Regions from separate parts of the Homo sapiens genome. Here regions 2, 3 and 4 are each linked to region 1. Evidence: promoter capture Hi-C in human tissues and cell types (Jung and others, 2019). All regions are on one chromosome and are shown on one strand. The core of a region is centred on a gene start or on the middle of the fragment in contact, and the rest is flanking DNA. Distances in the headings are between cores, read along the strand shown.

Region 1 (5,503 bases), core at 1,748-4,247:
GAAGATCACTTGAGCCCAGGAGTTCAAGACCATCCTAGGCCACATAGTAAGACCTAATCTCTACAAAAAAATACAAAAGTTAGCAATTTCACACAAGGACACCCAGTTGTTGAGGGGCACAGCCACGAAGTGAAGTCTCCCAAGCCACGTGCCATAGGTTAAATTGGGCAAACTCCCCCGCTGCAGCCACAGGCTGTGATGGGGAACACTCAAGACAATAATGAATTTGCAATTCCTTTTGCAAGCTTCAAATGCCACCACTCCTGGCCATTATTTATTTATTTATTTATTTATTTATTTTGAGATGGAGTCTTGTCTGTCACCCAGGCTGGAGTGGTGTGATCTCTGCTCACTGCAACCTCTGCCTCCCAGGTTCCAGCGATTCTCCTGCCTCAGCCTCCTGAGTAGCTGTGATTACAGGCGCCTGCCACCACGCCCAGCTAATTTTTGAATTTTTAATAGAGACGGGGTTTCACCACGTTGGCCAGGCTGGTCTCGAACTCCTGATCTCAAGTGATCCACCCACCTCAGCCTCTCAAAGTGCTGGGATTACAGGCATGAGCCACCGCGCCCAGCTCCTGGCCATTATTTACTGGGCTTCTCCATGTGCCAGGTGTTTAGCGCATACTGTCACACTAAAGTCTCAGCACAATTCTTCCAAGGAAGAATTTTTTCAGAATTTCCAATTTATAGATGAGGAAATGGGCTCAGAGAGAAGTAATTTGCTCAAGGTCACAGAGCATAAATTCAAATCCTGGTGGTTTGATTAAAGAAAATTAGAAGCTGAAGCATCACTGGAGTAACATCTATACAGTCTCCTAAAGATGAACACTCAGGGTCTCTAATCTACCCCCTCCCCAAATATCCCTGGGGTGAACGTCTCTATATTTGTGCCCTCACAGAGCTGAGTAAGAACATGTTTGGGATATAACCCTAGGGATAGAATCATGAAGTCAAAGGGTCGTGGATACTTTTCTTTGCTGTACTTGAGGCTTCACATCTGCCCCAGGTATGTCTGGCTCCTCCCCCTCCCTTTCCTGGGATAGGCCCATACCACCATGAAAGACCCATACCGCCCCTCCTGGGAGCTGGGACCAGGAGCCCACCACTGTCTGGAGTCACTGAAGAGAAGGAACATCCTCCTAGACTGAGGGTTTAAGACCAAAATAGCCTGTGCCCACTCCCATGTCTGTTCTTGCCTTGTTTATGGAAAGCCAGAAGCTCATGGAATGTGAGGATTGTACAATGACGCCATCAAGAATGTCCAGGCCACATGGCATCAAGGTGAAATCACTCAAGGCTCAAGACCCCCTCTTGGGGCTTGCCTTGGGGCCCTGAATAGTCTGTCCCAGGCCCTGCAGCCAGGTCTGAGTCTTCCAGTCCCTTCCCCTCTCTAGGCCTGTCTCTCCCACAGGTCTGCAGGGAGTGTCAGATGACAATATACTGTGACTTGTAAACCATAAAGTACTAGACATAAGCGAGGAGCTATCATTATATTATAGATCCAAGAGTTGACAATCTCTAGGGTCAGAAATCAGCTGCTTGGGGCTAAGCCCATATAGATAAAATCGGCCCATCCCTCCAAATATAGGCAGTTGGTAAGAGCTAAGTTCGAATCCTGGCTATATTCACAGCTAATTCTGGGACCTTAGGCAACTGACTTTACCTCAGTCTCCTTAACTGTAAAATGGGACTAATAATGGTGTATACCTCATTGCTAAGAGATTACAAGACATGTTGCAACCAATTTGGAAAACAGTTTGCCAGTTCCTCGAAAGGTTAAACAGTTGCCATATGACCCAGCAATTCCACTCTTCCTTATCTATCCAAGAGAAATGTAAACATAAGGCCCCCACACAAAAGCTTGTACCTGAATGGTCAGAGCAGCATTATTCATAATGGCTAAAAACTAGAAACACGCGAATGACCATCACTGATGAATGGAAAAACAAAATCTGGTATAGTCCCAGCTCCCAGGAGGGGCAGTATAGGTCTTTCATGGCGGTGTGGGCCTATCCCAGGAAAGGGAGGGGTGGAGTCAGACATACCTGGGGCAGATGTGAATCCAGAAGCACTGATACATGCTACAATGTGGATGAAACTTGAAAATGTTCAAGAGAAAGAATCCAGACATAAAAGGCCATATATTGTATAATTCCATTTATATGAAATATCCAGAAAAGGGACATCTATAGAAACAGGAAGCAGATTAGTGGTTGCCAGGGACTGGGGGAGCCAGGATGCGGAGTGACTGCTAATTGGTAGGAGTTTCTTTTTGGGGTGATGAAAATGTTCTAAAATTAGAATGTTGTGATGGCTGCACAACTCTGTAAATATGCTAAAAATCATTGTACACTTTAAACGTGAATTTATGGTATGTTTATGTTCCATAAAACTGCTGGGGAAAAGACTACAGGAGAAAGTAGGTAGAGCTTCGGGCGTGCGTGGCTCAGTAAACGCTGGTGATTATTAATAATTAGGTCTCACGAGGTAATTTAAAGCCCCAGAAGCAGTGAGTGCAATGGGACTGCCAGACTTCTGGCTCAGGCTGGGCCTTTAAGCCGCTCTGCGTCCCTGAACTCACTTGGGCCTCCTCAGAGTTCCTCATAAATGAATGGGGCAAACAATCCCTACCACGTCCTTGGGGTCTCGCAGGGAGCGGGGCTCAGGAGGCAGATGAGGAATCCATGGAGGAAGCCCTGGGCCTCCGGCTCGCGCTCTGCAGTAGGTGACAGGCCCCGCTTGGAGCCAACCCGGAAAGGCCCGAGCTCGTCCAGGTGAGTTCTTGTGATTGGCAGCCCGGAGGAGGGCGGGGAGGGCTGCGGTGACGGCTGCCCCGCCCCCTCACTTCGGGCTTGTTGGCGCCCGCCGGGGGAGGGTGGGCGGGGCCCGGGGTCCGCGGCGCCCATTGGGCGTGGGGGGAGAGCTCCGGGGTGGGCCTGGAGCCCCGCCCCCCGGCCTTGCGGCGGCCAATAGGCGCCGCGCGTGGGCGGGGCGTCGGCGGCAGCAGGGCGGCTGAGGTGGCCGCTGGAGCTCAGGCGGCGGGCGCGGCTGGGATGGCGAAGAGCAACGGAGAGAATGGGCCGCGCGCGCCCGCGGCCGGGGAAAGCCTGTCGGGAACCCGGGAGAGCCTGGCCCAGGGCCCCGACGCCGCAACCACCGACGAACTCAGCTCTCTCGGGTCTGACTCGGAGGCCAACGGCTTCGCCGAGCGCCGCATCGACAAGTTCGGCTTCATCGTGGGCTCGCAGGGCGCCGAGGGCGCGTGAGTAGCGCCGGGGGTCGGGACTGAGCGCGCCACCCACGCGAGGGGCCTCGACACGGACGGAGGCGCCCTCGGGACTTGCCGACACGTCCCCCTCCCAGGCAGGGACCACTAATCCCCGTTCCCTCCCCTGCCCCACCCCCACCACCCCTGCCTTCCTAGACCCGCCCCCTTCGCAGTCCTACTTCCGACCCAGGGGGCGGACGGGCCCACACCTCCACCCGCCACCTCCACCCTCCGGACAGACTGACCCGCTCCCAGGAAGGACCGACTGTGCCCTCCTTCCAGCCGTGGAACAGAATGACAGACTGCCCCAAACCCACCCCTGCCGCCAAGACCTTAGGGATGATTGTTTCTGCCACCCCGACAGGCTCCCAGATGGCTGGCGCCCCCCTCCATAGACACTCATTCTCCATCTTTCCCCCTCCCACAAACCCACAGACGCCCTTGTCTCCCCGCCTCACTGCCCCCACACCAGGAGACCTCAGACCGACTTCAGGACTGACTGCCCCGCCCCCACCCCTTCCCAGGACAGACTGACCCTTTCCTCGAGGCATACAGACCTCTGGATGGACAGACATTGGTCACCTCCCTCCCCTCAGCTCCATCCTGGGACAGACAGTCCCTTCTCCTCATGGAAGGGTCGGAGAAGGGCCCCCTATCCGCTCATACACAGCTTCCTCCACTGGCACTGGCAACAGGTGGGCAGGTACTCCCCCTTCCCAGCACGTACAGGGCGACAGGGAGCCCCACCACTAGGACAGACCATCAGCTCCAGCAGCCACAGGAGCCAGTAGATGGGCTCTGTGTATGTCCTGTGTATGTATGCGCCTCCTCCCAAGGGCAGATCTTGGGCGTGGGACGGGGGCAGGCAGGGAGACAGCAGGGTCCCTGCTCATATTAGCACCCCCCGATGTCCTATCCCGAGAGCACCCAGACACCCAGCTAGCAGACAGAGAAATGTGGGGCAGTGGAACAGCACCTTGCCTCCAAGCTGGGCCCCATGTTGCCCCACAGAATCCCCCGAGCCCAGGCCTCAGAGATCATGTGTACAGGCTGGCGGTCCCCTTAGGAAAGATGGACTCCATACCCCACTCCCATCCCAGCTGTCCTGTCACGTGAGACCAGTGTTGTGCACAGAACTGACAAGACTCCCTCCTGATGTGTGCTTTCCATCCCAATCACCAGTAGGAGCTCCTGGGGCCCTGCCATGACCCTACTCCAGAGAATATCCTTTCTCCCTTTCTCTGACCAATTGAGATTGTCCAAGGTCACCCCAGACTCTCTCATGACTTATGGAAGCGCTTTAACTGTCTAAGAACCCCTGTCACTTCCGGGATTTTCCCCAGCCCTAAAGCCTCTTATTCACCAGGCCTCCTTCTTCCTTGGAGAAATCCAGGCCCCTCCCCTAAGGGGAGTTCCCTCTCACCCACTGGATCTGTCTCCTCCAGTATCTCCCTACTGGCTCACAGCAGGCTAGGTTTAGTCCAGGACTCAGAGAGAGCACCCCTCATTCTGAACCCTCACCCTGACTGATGCTTTGTCACAGTTCCCCAGGGATTCACTTGTGAGAACTTAGTGGGGACCTGGAGTGTTTTGAATTGAGGAGCAGTCACCTGGGATTAGGACCCAGGGAGGTGTGTGGTCTTGAGATCTAGGAAAGGAGTTCCCAGTTGCATTTATGGGACCTTGGAAGGAAGAGCTCAGATTTGTGGGAGAATGCTAGGGCATGAGAGTTCCTACTACATGCTTATCAGGCAATCAACCAGATCTTGGGGTGCAGAGCAATGTGATATATTAGGAAAAGGCCAAACTTAGGAATTACACTTGCTAGCTTTGTGACCTTGGGCAAGATCCTGAATCTCTGAGCCTGTTTACTCACTGTAAAGGGCGACAGTAACACCCACTTCCCAACATTACTCTGGGGGTTAAATGAGTATATGATACGTGAAGGTGCCTGGCACAGCGCTTGTCACAAGTAGCGGCCCAGAAAATGTTAGTTTTCTTTCTTTCCTTCTAAGGGTCTGAGAAATGAAGAGAAAAATGAGGGCATATCTCTGGTATTTGTGGGCAGAGTGAGGCCCCAGTGGAAGCACCTCCCTTTGGCTGTAGTCCCCAACCAGGCAGCCAGACATCTGTCTTTCTTACCCCACAACCACAAACCCGGGATGTGGCTCTGCAGACACCCTCTACATGGCTGCTGTCTGTAGGGCTGGGGCTGAGGTGGGATCCCAGCTC
Region 2 (5,503 bases), core at 3,004-5,503, 500 kb after region 1:
TAGTGAGTGTGGACTGAGGAACTAGATTTTTAATTTAATTGTAATGCTTTTAAATTAAAATAGCCCCATGTGGTGAGTGCCAGCACAGATATAGAGCAGTTATATTATTGCAGAAAGTTCTGATGGAAACACTGATGGAGACTGGCTCCTTGGGTGGTCGAGTATGATTTTCCACCTCAGTCCTCCCCACATACCGAATGAACATGTGGGTTGTTAGACTGCAGGCATTGTGAGAGCGATGGCCTGGTCCTTGCCCTTTACTCCTGATTTCCAGTGCCAGGCGCACAGGAGGCTCTCAGAAAACATTTGGTACATGAGTCAGGGACTGCAGCCAGGCCATGTGCCAGGTGCTGGAGCTATAAAGAGAAAAGACATGGTCTCTGCCCTTGAAGAGCCCACGACCTAAGAGAAAGACAGACCAGTAGCTTCTCTAGTGTGATCAGGGTTGTGACAGAAGGAAGTCTAGGCTGTTCCATGAGTGCAGAGCCGGGGCCGCCGATCCAGACCAGTGGGGTGTGTAGGGGCAGGGAGGCTTTGGCCTGGTGGGAGGGTACGTGCAGCCCAGGAGGGCTTCCTGAAGGAAAGGGCTTCTGAACTGGGTATTGAAGGGCAACTTAACACTAGCTGGGCAGAGCAACAGGAGAAGGCTGGACCTGGTAGGACAACCTTAGTATGCAGTTCTGGAGTCTTGAGAGATCCTGACTCTTACACTAACCACAAGTCACTTGAGGTGGCAACAGTATAGCAGAGTTAGCAAGTACAGGCTTCGTGTTCATTTCACACATATTTGAATATTTGTCTTTGTGTCTTTGGGCAAGTTATTGAACCTCTCTAAGCCTCAAATCCAAAAGCGATAATAATAGGACCAGCTTTGCAGGGTGGTTGTGGGGATTAAATGAGATGCCTGTGAATGAGCACTGTGCCTGGAACATAGTAAGCACTCAATAAATTGTTATTACAATGGTGATGACAGCAGGGACAACAACAGCAGCACTAAATTGGGGGTATGGTGGGAAGGCAGATGAGTTGAGGGAGACAGCTGCCTGATCGAAGAGGGGTCTTGCTGGCAGACTGAAGAGTGTTACTCTGAAGGCCACGGGCAGCTCCTGAAAGATTGTACTAAGATATGTGTCCACCCTATATTTGTCCCTTTAGTCTTGGCTTGGGGCATGATCTCTAGCCAAAGGGTAGTTACCACACCACCTTTTCAGGGTAATTGGTAGAGCTAATGTTGGTTGAGGATCTATTTGAATAGCACATACTTGAAGACCCAAAAGAAATAGTCTTGTGGCCAGGCCCGGTAGCTCACGCCTGTAATCCCAGCACTTTGGGAGGCTGAGGCAGGTAGATCACTTGAGCCCAGGAGTTCAAGACCAGCTCGGGCAACATGGCAAAACCATTTTTTTTTTTTCCCAGACAGAGTCTTGCTCTGTCGCCTAGGCTGGAGTGCAGTGGCGCGATCTCGGCTCACTGCAACCTCCGCCTCCCGGGTTCAAGTGATTCTTCTGCATCAGCCTCCTGAGTAGCTGGGACCAGCTAATTTTTGTGTTTTTAGCAGAGACGGGGTTTCACCATGTTGGCCAGGCTAGTCTCGAACTCCTGACCTTGTGATCCGCCCGCCTTGGCCTCCTAAAGCACTGGGATTACAGGCGTGAGCCACCACGTCCAGTCAGCCTCCATTCATTTCTTTGTCCAGCCAGCAGATCTGTACAGAAAGTCTGCTCAATGCCAGGTGGTGTTCTATAGACTCGGAATGCTGGGTGAGCAAAGCTCAGACTGCCTCCAGACACCTACAAGCTAGTGGGGGAGACAGCTGGGAAGACCAGTCCTCCCCTTTTATACAGCTTTATTCAGGCATTGTTGAAGGACAATAAACTGCACATATTTAAAATATACAATTTGCCAACACCTATGAAAAGAAAGGGAATTTTTTTTTTGAGGTGGAGTCTAACCTGTTGCCCAGGCTGGGGTGCAGTGGCATGATCTCTGCTCACTGCAACCTCCGCCTCCCAGGTGCAAGTGATTCTCCTGCCTCAGCCTCCCGAGTAGCTGGGACTATAGGTGCGTGCCACTACACCTGGCTAAGTTTTGTATTTTTGATAAGAGATGGGATTTCACAGTGTTGGCCAGGCTGGTCTCAAACTCCTGGCCTCAAGTGATGGGCCTGACTTGGCCTCCGAAAGTGCTGGGATTACAGGCATGAGCCACTGTACCCAGCCAACATTTTAAAAATTAAAACGTAAAATATGCAATTTGATTGGTTTTTCCATCTGTATGCATGCATGAAACTATCATCATCAATGAGCATTTCTACCACCCCTGAAAGTTTTCTTGTGCCTCTCTGCAATCCATGCCTTCCTCCCACCCTTTCCCCATCCAAACCACTGATCTGAAAGCACTTTTAATGCTGTTCAAGTGGTATAGAGAGGTGAGCACAGAATGCAGGTGCTGAGGGAGAGCTTAGATGAGCTCCTAATCCAGCTGGGATGGGAGTCAGGGAGGCTTCCTGGAAGAGGTGAGATTGGAACTGGGGTCAGAAGGACAATCAGTGAGACCAGGATGGCACACAGATACCATAGGTCATTTAATAGGTCTGCAGTGTAAGCTTTGGCTCAAATCCTGCCTCAGTTGCCTCTTTAATCCCATGACCTTGGGAAAGTTCCTGAAACTTACTGTTTGATTCCTCCTCTAAAATGGGATGAATACTATGTCTCTTTTAAATAGTTTTTGTAGATTAAAAAAATAGGGGCTGTGGGTTGTGCCTGCTTAGTGGCTGGCACAGGGCAGGTCCACAATGAGTGGCAGCTTTCATTTGCACCATTCCAGCATTCACCAAATCTGTCTCCCACCGCCCAGTGCAATCTGTGCCCTTTTGTTATGACCCATGTTTATGCCTCCATAAAAATGTTTCTTCCATTTGAAGTCCTTATCCTCGAATGCTTGGAGCCTTGGAGGAAGTCTGCTTGCTCTGGGAAGCCGTCCCTTATCCTCCAGGTGCTATTAATTCCCTTCTGCATTTCCACAGTCCCTCTGCCAGGTTTGAGCTGTCACTTCCTTTGTTTTGTGCTCACTTGGTGATTTAGATGTCCATCTTCCCCCTGTGGGATTGTAGGGAAAGTAGAATCTCAGGGGTGTGTGTGTGTGTGTGTGTGTGTGTGTGTGTCAGAAGAATGAGTAGCCTGGTGTGTGTGTGTGTGTGTGTGTGTGTGTGTCAGAAGAATGAGTAGCCTGGTGTGTGTGTGTGTGTGTGTGTGTCAGGAGAATGAGTAGTCTGGGTGTATGTGTGTGTGTGTGTGTGTGTCAGAATGAGTAGCCTGGTTGTGTGTGTGTGTGTGTGTGTGTGTGTGTGTGTGTCGGGAGAATGAGTAGCCTGGCCTGAGTGAGAAGTGAGGGAAGAGGTAAAGTGCCAACAGATAGAAGAGGGAGGAAGCTTGGAAACCAAGGAGATGTATTTCGGCTCCTGACAGTTGTTTTGAACTTGTTTCAGCCAGCAGAATTTCTTTTTCAACAGATTTGTACCTGTAACTCCATGATACAAATTTGATTTAAATGGGAGGGGGTCCTGCAGACCCACATGAGAGGTGGCCTTGAAGAATCCTTGTGGTACCCACAGGCTCTACAGTTTGGAAACTCGCGTAAGGCACTAGGAAGGCATAGATGGTTCTTGAGGAGGCTGACCTCTTATCAGTCTCAATTTTTCTATATCCCCTGGATCAACAGACCTGGAAGTGGATGGACTGTGGTTGATAAGAGCTGACACATTGCCTGGCCATCCTCCTGCTACCACTTCCCCAGAGAAAGCACCCGTTATGTAGTCAGAGGAGAAAACTGAGCCCATCTCCTCTTTATGGTGAACAAAGTAAGGTTTGTTCATGGCAAGTAGGGGCTGGAAGGGAGAACTTGTGATTCTACGCTGAGACTTACTTACAAAAAAATAAAAAACAAAAAAAAAGGAAAGAACAGACCCAGACAAATTGTTTCATGGGTATAATTTTTTTTTTTTTTTTTTTTTTTGAGATGGAGTCTGGCTCTGTCAGCCAGGCTGGGGTGCAGTGGCGTGATCTCGGTTCACTGCAAGCTCTGCCTCCCGGGTTCACGCCGTTCTTCTGCCTCAGCCTCCCGAGTAGCTGGGACTACAGGCGCCCGCCACCATGCCCGGCTAATTTTTTTGTATTTTTAGTAGAGACGGGGTTTCACTGTGCTAGCCAGGATGGTCTCGATCTCCTGACCTCGTGATCTGCCTGCCTCAGCCTCCCAAAGTGCTGGGATTATAGGCATGAGCCACTGTGCCTGGCCTTTATGGGTATAATTTAATGTAAATGCCTGGAAGAGGTCTGCAAGGACACCCATCAGATGGTGAGTGGTTACCTCTGCAGGGAACATGGGGCCTGGGAGTGTAGTCCCAGGCAGCTCACCTTCTCTGTACCTTGTAAGTTTTTGAAAGAAAAGATGCTTGTGTCAAATTATATAATTAAAAATTAATTTAAAAAGTAATATATGTGGCCAGGAGAGGTGGCTCAAACCTGTAATCCTAGCACTTTGGGAGGCCAAGGCAGGCGGATGGCTTGAGCCCAGGAGTTTGAGACCACCTGGGCAACATGGCAAAACCCCATCTCTACTAAAAAAAAATTAGCCAGGCATGGTGGTGTGCACCTGTAGTCCCAGCTACTTGGGAGGCTGAGGTGGGGGATCACCTAAGCCCAGGAGGTAGAGGCTGCCGTGAGCCAAGATTATGCCACTCCACTTCAGCCTGGGCAACGGGAGTGAGACCTGTCTCAAAAACAAAACAAAACAAAACAAAAGTAATATATGAATATATGTTCTTTTTTTTTTTTTAATGGGAAAGTCTATTCAAGCCACAATTCACCACCCCCCGCCCCCATCAGAGATAACCACTATTAGCTTTGGGGCGTCATCTCCCCAGCTTCTTTTTTAAAAATCAATACCAGTGTGTGAATATACTTACACTTTTTAAAGACCGAAAACTATGCTCTGGTTTTTCTTCATAACAAATAAATCTTTTGCCTTTTACTAAAAAAGGAAAATGAAAACTGATTATATTAAACAGAGAGTTTTGTATCCTGCTTTCTCTTCCCTTAACCTTTCCCCGTGTCATTAAATCCACTCCGAAAACATGGATTTTAATTACCGCCTAGTGTTCGCTGAATGCAACCATGCCCTCTTTGTTAGATACACTTGGTTCTTTATGCTTAAAAGCTCCTTGGAGGGTCACCGGTTGGAACAGCCAAGTGTTGTCATTGCTGTGGGTTGGCAAATGGGCCCTCGCTGACTAACCTCTGCCACGTTAACACGTGGTTTTTGGATCCGTAGCACCCCGAGCAGAAGGCAGACCGGTATTTTGTGTTATACAAACCGCCCCCTAAAGACAACATTCCCGCCCTAGTGGAGGAGTACCTGGAACGCGCCACCTTCGTAGCCAATGACCTCGACTGGCTCCTGGCCTTGCCTCACGATAAATTCTGGTGCCAGGTAACATTCTATC
Region 3 (5,503 bases), core at 2,147-4,646, 450 kb after region 1:
GACCAGATATCAGCACACTACAGCTTCCAACTCCCCGGCTCCAGCAACCCTCCTGCCTCGGCTTCCCTACTGGGTCTAGAGGTATTCACCACTGCAACTGGCTGGATTGAACCTTTCAATTGTGGCGGGCGCTATACGAGCACTTTACATGTATATCTAATGTAATCTTAGGCCGGGCACGGTGGCTCACACCTGTAATCCCAGCACTTGGGGAGGCCGAGGCGGGCAGATCACCTGAGGTCAGGAGTTCGAGACCAGCCTGGCCAACATGGTGAAACCCCATCTCTACTAAAAATACAAAAATTAGCCAGGCATGGTGGCAGGTGCCTGTAATCCCAGCTACTCCGGAGGAAAATTGCTTACTCAGGAAAATTGCTTGAACCCGGGAGGCAGAGGTTGCAGTAAGCCAAGATGGTGCCTCTGCACTCCAGCCTGGGTGACAGAGCGAGACTCTGTCTCAGAAATAAATAAAATAAAATAAAATTTAAAGGTAATGTAATCTTTACAACAACACTATAGGAAGGTATTGTTACTGTCCTCCATTTTACACATAAGAAAGTGTAAAGGTCAGGATTTGAACCCAGAAGATTTGACTCCAAGTTCATGCTTGTCAACTTCATTACTACACCTCATCACCACTGCTGCCCACTTGCTTACCTTTAAGACAGACTTTAGTAAATTATTTATAAATAAGAAAGAGAAAACTGCAGCATGGCCTTGAAAACTCACCTCAAGAAGAAGGGCCTAAGGAGACTCAATAGAAAGCTGGTCTGTGTCTAAAGACTTAAATTTGAATCTTGTCGCCTCCTCATATCTGCTTCTCTTTTCCCTTTTCTATGCGTCAGTTTCCTCATCGCCTTCTAGGGTGGTAATCACTAACCTACTTAACTCATGTTGGCCGGTCTCCGTGGCTCACGCCTGTAATCCCAGCACTTTGGGAGGCAGAGGCGGGTGGATCATGAGGTCAGGAGATCGAGACCATCCTGGCCAACATGATGAAACCCTGTCTCTACTAAAAATACAAAAATTAGTCGGGTGTGGTGGCACGCGCCTGTAGTCCCAGTTACTCTGGAGGCTGAGGCAGGAGAATCGCTTGAGCCTGGGAGGTGGAGATTGCAGTGAGCCGAGATCACGCCACTGCACTCCAGCCTGGCAACAGAGCGAGACTCTGTCTCAAAAAAAAAAAAAAAAAGAAAGAAAAGAAAAAGAAAAAAGAAGCATGTTAGGGTTCTTTAAGGTAATGGGTTTGAGAACGTTTTATATTCCATTTAAAGCCAAAGCAGTGCACAGGTTCCTTGTGTGCTTTGGCTGAAGACAAAGCCCCAGCTTTGTGCACTGACTCAAGGAAAGAGGGAACCAATCCTCGCTTCATCTCGCTGCCCTATTTCTCATGTGAGGTCCTCTACCCGCCTGACCGTCTCCTCCTCCTCCTGCTGTCCTTTCAGCCTTGCTCCCCATCCTATCTTCAAAGCTGAAAATGTTATTCCAGCTACACAGGGACTCTGAAATAGCCTAAGACAGATGAAAATGCTGATTGAGGGTTGGAGGCTTCCTAAAGTCATGCAGGGCCCCTGGAAGGCAGGGGTCCCTCAGCCTCCCAAAATGCAGACTTCCCAACACTGGGTAATACTGCTTAACTCTAAATGTCACTCATTTCAGTGGGCACTTTGCGTGAATTAGCCCATAATCTCTTCAGCATCTCCTTGGTCTCCCAATCCAGCTAGCAGACAGGAGTAACTGTGGTTTTCAGACTTTGAGGAACAATTTGCCACGGGTCAGACAGAAATTAGAGTTGAATCATGTTGCTGTGATTCAATGTCTCCTGGGATTTTCCAAACACCACACTGCAACCCTACTGTAGGAGAGGGTAATTTCAACTCTGATTGAGCCTAGAGCAGTGATTCTCAAAGCATAGTCCACAGGTCCCTGGAGGGTCCTGAGACTTTTTCAGGGTTCTAGTTGGGTCAAAACTATTTTCATAGGCCAGGAGTGGTGGCTCACACCTGTAATCCCAGCACTTTGGGAGGCCGAGGCAGGCAGGTCACTTGAGGTCAGGAGTTTGAGACCAGCCTAGCCAATATAGTGAAGCCCCATCTCTACTAAAAATACAAAAATTAGCTGGGCATGGTGGCGGGCGTGTGTAATCCCAGCTACTCATGAAGCTGAGGCAGGAGAATCGCTTGAACCCAGGAGGCAGAGGTTGCAGTGAGCCGAAATTGCGCTACTACACTCCAGCCTGGGCGACAGAGTGAGACTCCATCTCAAAATAAATAAATAAATATAAAATAAATAAAAACTATTTTAATAATACTAAGAAATTGTTTGCCTTTTTACTGTGTTGACATTTGCACTAATAGTGCAAAAGCAGTGGTAGTAAAACTGGTGGCACTTTATCACAAATCAAGGCAGTGATATGATATGTACTAGTAGCCATTGTACTCTTCACCAACATACCCTAGTAGTAAACAAAATGCCAGTTTCACTTAAGAAAATCATTGATGAAGCAGTAACAAAAAATATGTATTTTATTATCTCTATATATTTGAATACAAGCCTTTTTACTATTCTGTGTGATGGATTGGAAATTACACATAAAGCCCTTTTTTCACTTTTTCAATTGAGGTGAAATTCACATAACATGAAATTAATCATTTTAAGTGGACAATTCAGTGGCATTTTGTGCATTCACAATGTTATGCAACCACTACTTCTGTCCCATTCCAAAACGTTTTCATCACTGTAAAATAAAGCCCTCTACCTATTAGGCACTTATTTCCCACACACAAAAAGCACGTTTACTATTCAGAAGTAGGACAGTGGTCTCAAAGAAAAACACTTTTGCAATTGTTTGAGTTGCAAGATGAGCTAGCCTCTTGTTTAAGGAAATATCATTTTTACTTGAAAGAATGGTTAACATGCAAACTACAGTTACTCAGATTTGGGTGTTTGGCAGACATTTTCTCAAAAATATATGAAGTAGGTTTGTCACATCTAGTAAGACAGCTAATAGTATTTGTTGTCAATGATAAAATTCAAGCTTACTTACAATTTTGGAAAACTTAAATGTCCCACCATGAGCTTGACAGCCTCCCAATATACCTTCCCAATACATCTGCTGAGACGGTTGGTGATATTAGCAAAATGAATATTTTATATCATATAATGAAATGTGCCAACATTTTAAAGCACTACATAGTAAACCAATATTTTCCATATGACCAATGCATGATATTATTGGGCGTGGCCATGCATGCCTGTAATCCCAGCTACTCGGGAGGCTGAGGCAGGAGAATCACTTGAACTCAGGAGGCAGAGGTTGCAGTGAGCCAAGATCGTGCCACTGCACTGCAACCTGGATGACAGAGTGAGACTGTCTCAAAAAAAAAAAAAAAAGTATAAGGTAGACCAATGGATTTTAGTGTGAGTATGAAAAATTCATTGATATGAATTTATGCAAATAAACTTTAAGAAACTATTACCTGCCAACCTTTGGTGTAGTATCAAGAAAGAATATCCACAATGAACTGAAATATATAAGGCTGCATTTTCTTCATGTACTTTAACCAAAACAAATTGCCCCAGACTAAATGCAGAAGCAGATATGAGAATGCAGAATTCTTCCATTGTCAGACTTTAATGAAAATTGCAAACATGTTAAAAACAATGCCATTCTTCTCATGAAATTTTTTGTGTGAGAAAATATAGATTTTTTACATAAAAATATGTCATTTATGTTAACACATCATGGATTTACCATGATATTTTTTAAATAACGTCATTTTTTAACTATTAGCAAACCAAATTCAACAGCACATTAACAAGATCATTCACCATGATCAAGTGGGATTTATCCCTGGGATGCAAGGATGGTTCAAATCAATAAATATCAATCAATATACAAATCAATAAATGTGATACACCACATTAACAGAGTGAAGGGCAAAACCATCCCATCATCTCAATAGACACAGAAAGGGCACTTGATAAAATTCAGTATCCTTTCATGATAAAACTCCCAACAAATTAGGTATAGGAGAAATGTATCCCAACATAAGAAAGGCCATATATGACAAGCCCATAGCTAATATCATACTCAATGGTACAAAGCTGAAAACTTTTTCTCTAAGATCAGGAATAAGATAAGGACCCCTACTCTCACCACTTCTATTCAACATAGTACAGGAAATCCTAGCCAGAGCAATTAGGCAAGAGAAAGAAATAAAAGGCATCCAAATCAGAAGGGAAGACGTTAAATAGTCTCTGTTTACGGACAACATGATCATATGTATGGAAAACCCTAAAGACTCCACCAGGAAACCATTAGAACTAATAAACAAATTCAGTTAAGTTCCAGGATGCAAAATCAGCACACAAAGATTAGTAGCACTTCTGTATACTAACAACATAACAACTAATTATCCAAAAAAGGAATCAAGAAAACAATCCCATTCACAATAGCTACCAAAAGAAAAATACTTAGAAATAAATTTAACCAAGGAGGTAAAAGATCTGTACACTAAAAACTATAAAACAACGATGAAACAAACTGAAGAAGGCAAATTAACAGAAAGATATCCCTTGTTTTTGGACTGAAAGAATTGACATTGTTAAAATATCTGTATTATCCAAAGCAATCTACAGGTTCAATACTAGCCTATCAAAATTCCAATGACAGTTTTCACAGAAATTTTTTTAAAGTTCTAAAATTCATATGAACCACAAAAGACTGAATAGCCAAATCTGTCTTGAATGAAAAGAACAAAGCCAGAGGTATCACACTACCTGATTTCAAAATAACAAAGCTATATTAATCAAAATATCATGGTGCTGGCATAAAAACAGACATACAGACCAATGAAACAGAACAGAGAGGCCACAAGTAAATCCAGACATTTACAGTCAATTGATTTTCAACAAAGATGACAACTACACAATGGAGAAAAGACAGTCTCTTCAATAAATGGTGCTAGGAAAAACTATATTCACATGCAGAAGAATGAAATTAGAACTTCATCTTACACCATACACAAAAATCAACTCAAAATGGATTAAAGATTTAAATATATGACCTGAAATTAAAACTACCAGAAGAAAACATAAAAGCTTCATAACACTGGTCTGGGAAATGATTTTTTGGATATGACTCTAAAAGCACAGGCAACAAAAACAAAAATAGACAAATGGGACTACATCAAACTAAAAACCTTCTGCCCAGCAAAGAAAACAACAGAGTAATAAGATAACCTATTGAATGGGAGAATATATTAGCAAACCATACATCTGACTAGGGGTTAATATACAAAATGTATAAAGAACTCAATGGTAAGCAAATAAATAATCCTACTGAAAAAATGGGCAAAAGTTCTGAATAGGCATTTCTCAAAAGAAGACACAAATAGCCAACAGCTATATGAAAAACTGTTGAAGATTACTAATCATCGGGGAAATGCAAATTGAAACCACAATGAGATATCACATAACACTTGTAAAAATGGCTATTATC
Region 4 (5,503 bases), core at 1,045-3,544, 340 kb after region 1:
AGATTAAAGAAGGCTACAGAGTCATGGCAGCTAAATGCAATATATGACCTAGACTGGATCCTGTACTGAATGAGATGGAGGTGAGGGAGAATGCTATAAAAAAGTATCAATAGGTCATTAGGTGAACTGACAAAATTGGAACATGTATAGTAGACTGGATGTAAGTATTATCAATGTAAAATTGAAAATTGATAATGTTATGGTTATGTAAGAAAATATCCCTATTCTTAGGAAAGCACACTAAAGTATTTTGGGGTTAAGAGCCATGATTACGTAACTTACTCTCAATCTGTTCAGGAAAAGAAACACACACACACATACACACACGCCTCTGCAAATAATAAAGCAAATGGTAAAATGTTAACAAGTGAATCTGGGTGAATGGTGTACTGATGTTCTTTTTAGTATTTTTATTTTTGCCCTTTTGTAAATTTAAAATTATTTCCAAATTAAAAAAAAAAAACATCTTTCAACATAGCAAAGTATACATCCTACAGATAAAATATTTCAGGCACAAACTACTCAGAAAATATTCCTAATGAGGCTAATCATCAAAAGGTATTTTACTAAGTTACCAAATAATGGACCCATTCTTTAAAAAATATTTTCCACACTAAACAGCAACACAAACATACCATACCACATACCTGATAACTTTGCAGTCTTTGCAAGTCAAATGAAGCTGAAATATATCTCGGCATTCAACACTTTCTATAAGCTGTAATGGAACCTGCAATTTTAAAAAAATGAAGTCCTCTTAGTCAAAAAGGCATTGACCCTGGAGTTCTTCAATGTGTCCAACAAGACTAATTAAAAAGATCTATAAGGGAAAGCAACAAAAATAGAACTGCAAACTTATCTGGATCAACAGTACTCAAGTGATTTACTACAAAGTGAATTAGGACTTCCCTTTATCTCTAAATCAGTGGTCTCAAGTCATGTCATAGCATGAAGGCAACAAAGAGGTGGCACCACCTTTGGAAGAAGGGGAGAATATATCTCTCAGGCACCGAATTCACAAGATCAGAGTACTACTTTTAGATGCTATAACTGACTATGATTTGCAATGATGCAATGACATAGAAGCTGAAGGGAGCCAGAACAGTAATCTTTTCTTGCTTATAGAAAAGAACTACAGATCAGAATGCCAGTGGGAGACTATTGTTTGCCCCAAATGACAGAGTGGGCTTATGGCTTAGTGTCAGCCAATGAGGCTCCTGAAAAAGACTAGAGTTCTAAGCTGACTGTGGATTGCACAGAAAAGACAATGGGGCAATAGCTGCTGGCCAGGCTCTCTACTAAGTAGAATAGACCCAAAAGTATCAAAAAGGAGGGAGAAGGCCATACAGTGATCAAGGATGCTAAAGCTATAATAACTATGTCAGATTTGCTTCAAAAAATCAGTTAGAAGCCCCGTTTGCCAAATGGGGCTTGAGGTTTGAACAAGCTGGAATGGTTCCCCCTTGCCAATCTGGTCTACAGACTCTACTGGACACAGGATTATGTACAACAGCAGATAGAGAGAAGGGAGACAGATAGAAGCAAAAGCATCTAGACAGGGTGCCAAATCTTCAGGATAATATGAGGATCCTCCTCCTATCCCTTAAATCATCCTAATTCAACCCTTGGCTTCAAAAAGCAATTTCTAGGCTTTCAAGGCAAACCTGGTAAAATAATAGTGAATACTTTTACTCCTTGAAAAAGGAGTGGGCCATTTGCCTCTTACAGTGTATCAAGTCTAGCCAAAATGTGGCTCTGGGAGTTGCAAATAGCATTCCAACAACTTGTGTTTAGTATGCAAAGAGGAGGACAGTCTCCTCCAATGCAGACAGGAACAAGAGTACTGTCTGCACAGGCTGGCCCTCGTGTTAGCTGAGCCAGTTTCAGGAACAAGCTTCCTGCAAACTCTGCCCCACCACAGAGCTGCCAGTCAGCACAGAACTCTCAGAATGAGGATGCAGGGATCAAAAAGAAGCCCAGTGCTGGACAAAGAAACAGAAACTGGAGCAGGGGTTAAAGAAGAGAAGAAAGCAAAATAATATTACTCAGATAAATGACTGGGAGTTTCTACCTTAGGACTAAAGTCTTCTTGCTTTTAAGTCTACAGTCTATAAAAATTCCCTTACAAATGTAATAGGACTGGGGGTCAGAAAAAGACTAAGAAATCTTGGCCGGATACGGTGGCTCACGCCTGTAATGCCAACATTTTGGGAGGCCGAGGTGGGCGGATCACCTGAGGTCAGGAGTTTGAGACCAGCCTGACCAACATGGAGAAACCCCATCTCTACTAAAAATACAAAATTATCCAGGTGCGGATAATTTTGGTGCATGCCTGTATTTTGGTGCATGCCTGTATTTGGTGCATGCCTGTATTTGGTGCATGCCTGTAATTTTGGTGCATGTCTGTAATCCCAGCTACTCCAGAGGCTGAGGCGGGAGAATCGCTTGAATCCCAGAGGCAGAGACTGCGGTAAGCTGAGATCGTGTCATTGCACACCAGCCTGGGCAACAAGAGCAAAACTCCATCTCAAAAACAAAAAAAAAAGAAAAGAAAAAAGAAAAATCTTGCCTGTGTTCTGAGAACAAAAGGAGCTTTTGGCCTTCTGTTTTTATTTACGTCCTTAACCCCAAGGTGCTGTGAGAAACTGCAACTGATGCAACTAAGAATTCTTCTGAGACCTGTGCATCTAAGAAGGAAAAAAAAAAACAAACAAACCTACAATTTATCAGAGATAAAACTATAAAGAAGAAATATTGAGATTAAGAAGACAGATTAGAAGATAACTTTGCTTTGTTCTCAGGCCAGTTCTCTGGGTAGCCTGTAACAGACACTTACTGCTTTTTATTTTGTATATACTCCTGCTAACTACCTTACTCACTATATCCCCCCAAAATGTGGCTGCCAGACTGGCAATTAAGAGCCGTGAGTTCTAATCTCAATTTTCTAAAATGTTACCAATTAAAATTTTGCTGGCTTCATTGGGCAAGCCTCCAGCCTTCCCATGTGCCATCAGCCTCTGCTTTCTGAACCTTGGTCACAACTAAGGAAATCTCAGTCATGGGGCCTGGGAAGAGTCTGGGATAGGATTAGAGTGAGCTTTACAAATCCACAAGAAGAGGCTGCTCTTGCAGCAGTCACCTGCATCCCAAGTCCCCTGCAACTGACTTTCTTTATGGACAGAAGACATGAAAACCAGCTAATGCTCTTAGCAGCTGCTGGGGGAAATGGATTAGCCTTTGCTACTTTGCTACAAAGAACAGGTAAGTTTTACATCCTTATTACTAAACCAGAGCCCAATGGCCCGTGCCCAAATTTAATATCATAAAATTATCTCAGACCATGCAAAACATTTGCTACCTAAAATTCAGGCAATATATACATATTTTTTTCTATATTTTAACATCTTAAATTGAAGAAAAAAGAATTAGAATGTTGGTTCTATGCATTGAAATCAGATTGCAGACACCAGCAAGTCACCAAAATCAACCATGTGTATTACAAGTCACAGATACGGAGAACAGCAGATTTTAATATTCATGCAGACTGTCACATGCAGGAAAGCTTAATACGCAGCAAGAATAGGGACATACAAAAGAGAAACACCTGATTTTTATAACAAATATCTCCCTTTTCTTCTCCTTTCTACTGCAGTGTTTCCCTTCAGCACTTCCTGCACAGACTGCCTTTTCTTTCTTTCTTTCTTTCTTTTGAGATGGAGTCTCGTTCTGTTGCCCAGGCTGGAGTGCAATGGCGCGATCTTGGTTCACTGCAACCTCCACCTCCCAGGTTCAAGCTATTCTCCCTGCCTCAGCTTCCTGAGTAGCAGGCACCTGTGATCCCAGCCACCACGCCCAGCTAATTTTTGTATTTTTAGTAGAGATGGGGTTTTGCCATTTGTCCAGGTTGGTATCGAACCCCTGACCTCAGGTGATCCACCCGCCTAGGCCTCCCAAAGTGCTGGAATTACAGGTGTGAGCCACTGCACCCAGTCCAGATTGCCTTTTCTAAAAGGCAGAATTGACCTTCTTTTCCTGTTCATACCTCCATCCAAAACATACTGTTTCTCTATTTTCTTAAGGCCCACTACACTGCTTTAGGTTCAAATTTCCTCACATATGAAAACAATCTCTTAACATTTCTATAACTAGAGATACCCTATATTCAACCTCAAAAGCAAATTACAGATTCAAGAGCCAGTCCACTTTACAGCCCAGGAAGGTTAAACTACTACACTATAAGCTAATATAGTAGTAAAGTCAGGACCAGGATCCATGTCTGTCCTCCAGCCTGGGCTCCTTCCACCATACACGGTGTGTCTTTCTTTCTGCCCCTACACGTGGGCTTCTCTTCCATATGAGCTCTACTTTAGTTTTTCTTTCACAAATAAGTAGCTTCTCCACCAGGGATCTTCAAGAGGAAAACAGAGTTTAAATCAAAACTCCTCAGATGCAATTCCTTTTGTAAAAGAGTAGCAAGATAAACTCACTTTCAAATCCTCTCAAACGTACTGATTCAATGTCTTGTAGCAACTCATTTTCTTTTTGCTCCTCTCTCCTCTATCTCTCCACCTGCCAGGTAACGCAATCTCACCTTACAATGCTTTTCCTAATATAAATTTCACCAAACTCATGCTCAAACAATGCATCAAACACATTCAGTGCTACAACCAATTCCTCAAAAAGCCAAGTTACATTATAGACACTAACACCCTGAAGAGCATCAATCCAAAAAAAGCAGAAGAGCAGCAGTTTAAAAATTTAACAGACATACAGACATGCACAGGTTATGTCCACAGTACTGTCACATTCCAGAGGGAACTGATGCCATCATACCCTACTATATTTACCTCATTTCATTCTGGGTGTGTGTGCATACATGTGCATTATTTTTAAACACCAGAATCTAGAGTGGGATAATTCCTACCTTTTTAAAAACAAACACCCTTTTTATAGCCTGAATGGGAAGTACTAATCTTGTACACGTGAAGTTAAAATGGCAGTAAAAGAGTAAAAATAATGAGTCTAAATCTAAAATCAGTAATAAAGTGGAATATCTGGGCACAAAAATCTTTTCATTTAAAAACTAATCAGGGCCGGGCACGACGACTCACATCTATAAACCCAGCACTTTGGTAGGCTGAGGCAGGAGGATCGCTTGAGCCCAGGAGTTCAAGACCAGCCTGGGCAACATGGTGAAACCCTGTCACTACAATAACATAACATAACATAAAAATAAAATAAATATAATAAAATAAAAATAAAATAAAATAAAAAATTGAGTGCAGTGGCTCACATCTGTAATCCCAGCACTTTGGGAGGCCAAAGTGGGTGCACTGCTTGAGCCCAGGAGTTTTGAGACCAACCTGGGCAACACAGACATCATCTCTACAAAAAATAAAATTAAATTAACTGAACGCGGTGGCATGTGTCTGTAGACCTAGCTACTCAGAAGGCTGAGGTGGGAGGATCACCTAAGCGCAGGAAGTTGAGGCTGCAGTGGGCC

Evidence for each region. The method cuts DNA at HindIII sites, captures the fragments that hold promoters and counts their contacts. A contact is called where the count stands out against the background at its distance.
Region 2: a contact is called between a fragment that was not itself captured here and the fragment with the promoter of TBC1D10A in region 1, in 2 of the 25 tissues and cell types used here (H1 embryonic stem cells and hippocampus).
Region 3: a contact is called between a fragment that was not itself captured here and the fragment with the promoter of TBC1D10A in region 1, in 1 of the 25 tissues and cell types used here (hippocampus).
Region 4: a fragment that was not itself captured here is called in contact with the fragment with the promoter of TBC1D10A in region 1 in 1 of the 25 tissues and cell types used here (dorsolateral prefrontal cortex).

What each region holds. Positions count from the first base shown.
Region 1 is chr22:30,324,435-30,329,937 of GRCh38, reverse strand. TBC1D10A (TBC1 domain family member 10A) reads left to right here and starts at 2,997. Exons shown (of 9, transcript NM_031937.3): 1 at 2,997-3,265. The coding sequence starts at 3,057. RefSeq lists silencers at 2,745-3,074, 3,375-3,424 and an enhancer at 3,641-4,590. The HindIII fragment of the contact is 10,227 bases long and covers 1,055-5,503 here.
Region 2 is chr22:29,825,609-29,831,111 of GRCh38, reverse strand. ASCC2 (activating signal cointegrator 1 complex subunit 2) reads left to right here. Exons shown (of 20, transcript NM_032204.5): 3 at 5,332-5,490. Among named protein-coding and RNA genes, the nearest start is that of ASCC2, 9.9 kb to the left of the region's middle. The HindIII fragment of the contact is 7,224 bases long and covers 642-5,503 here.
Region 3 is chr22:29,874,123-29,879,625 of GRCh38, reverse strand. No RefSeq gene overlaps it. Among named protein-coding and RNA genes, the nearest start is that of MTMR3, 6.3 kb to the left of the region's middle. The HindIII fragment of the contact is 5,221 bases long and covers 786-5,503 here.
Region 4 is chr22:29,983,707-29,989,209 of GRCh38, reverse strand. MTMR3 (myotubularin related protein 3) reads right to left here. Exons shown (of 20, transcript NM_021090.4): 6 at 648-730. Among named protein-coding and RNA genes, the nearest start is that of MIR6818, 21 kb to the left of the region's middle. The HindIII fragment of the contact is 5,304 bases long and covers 1-4,946 here.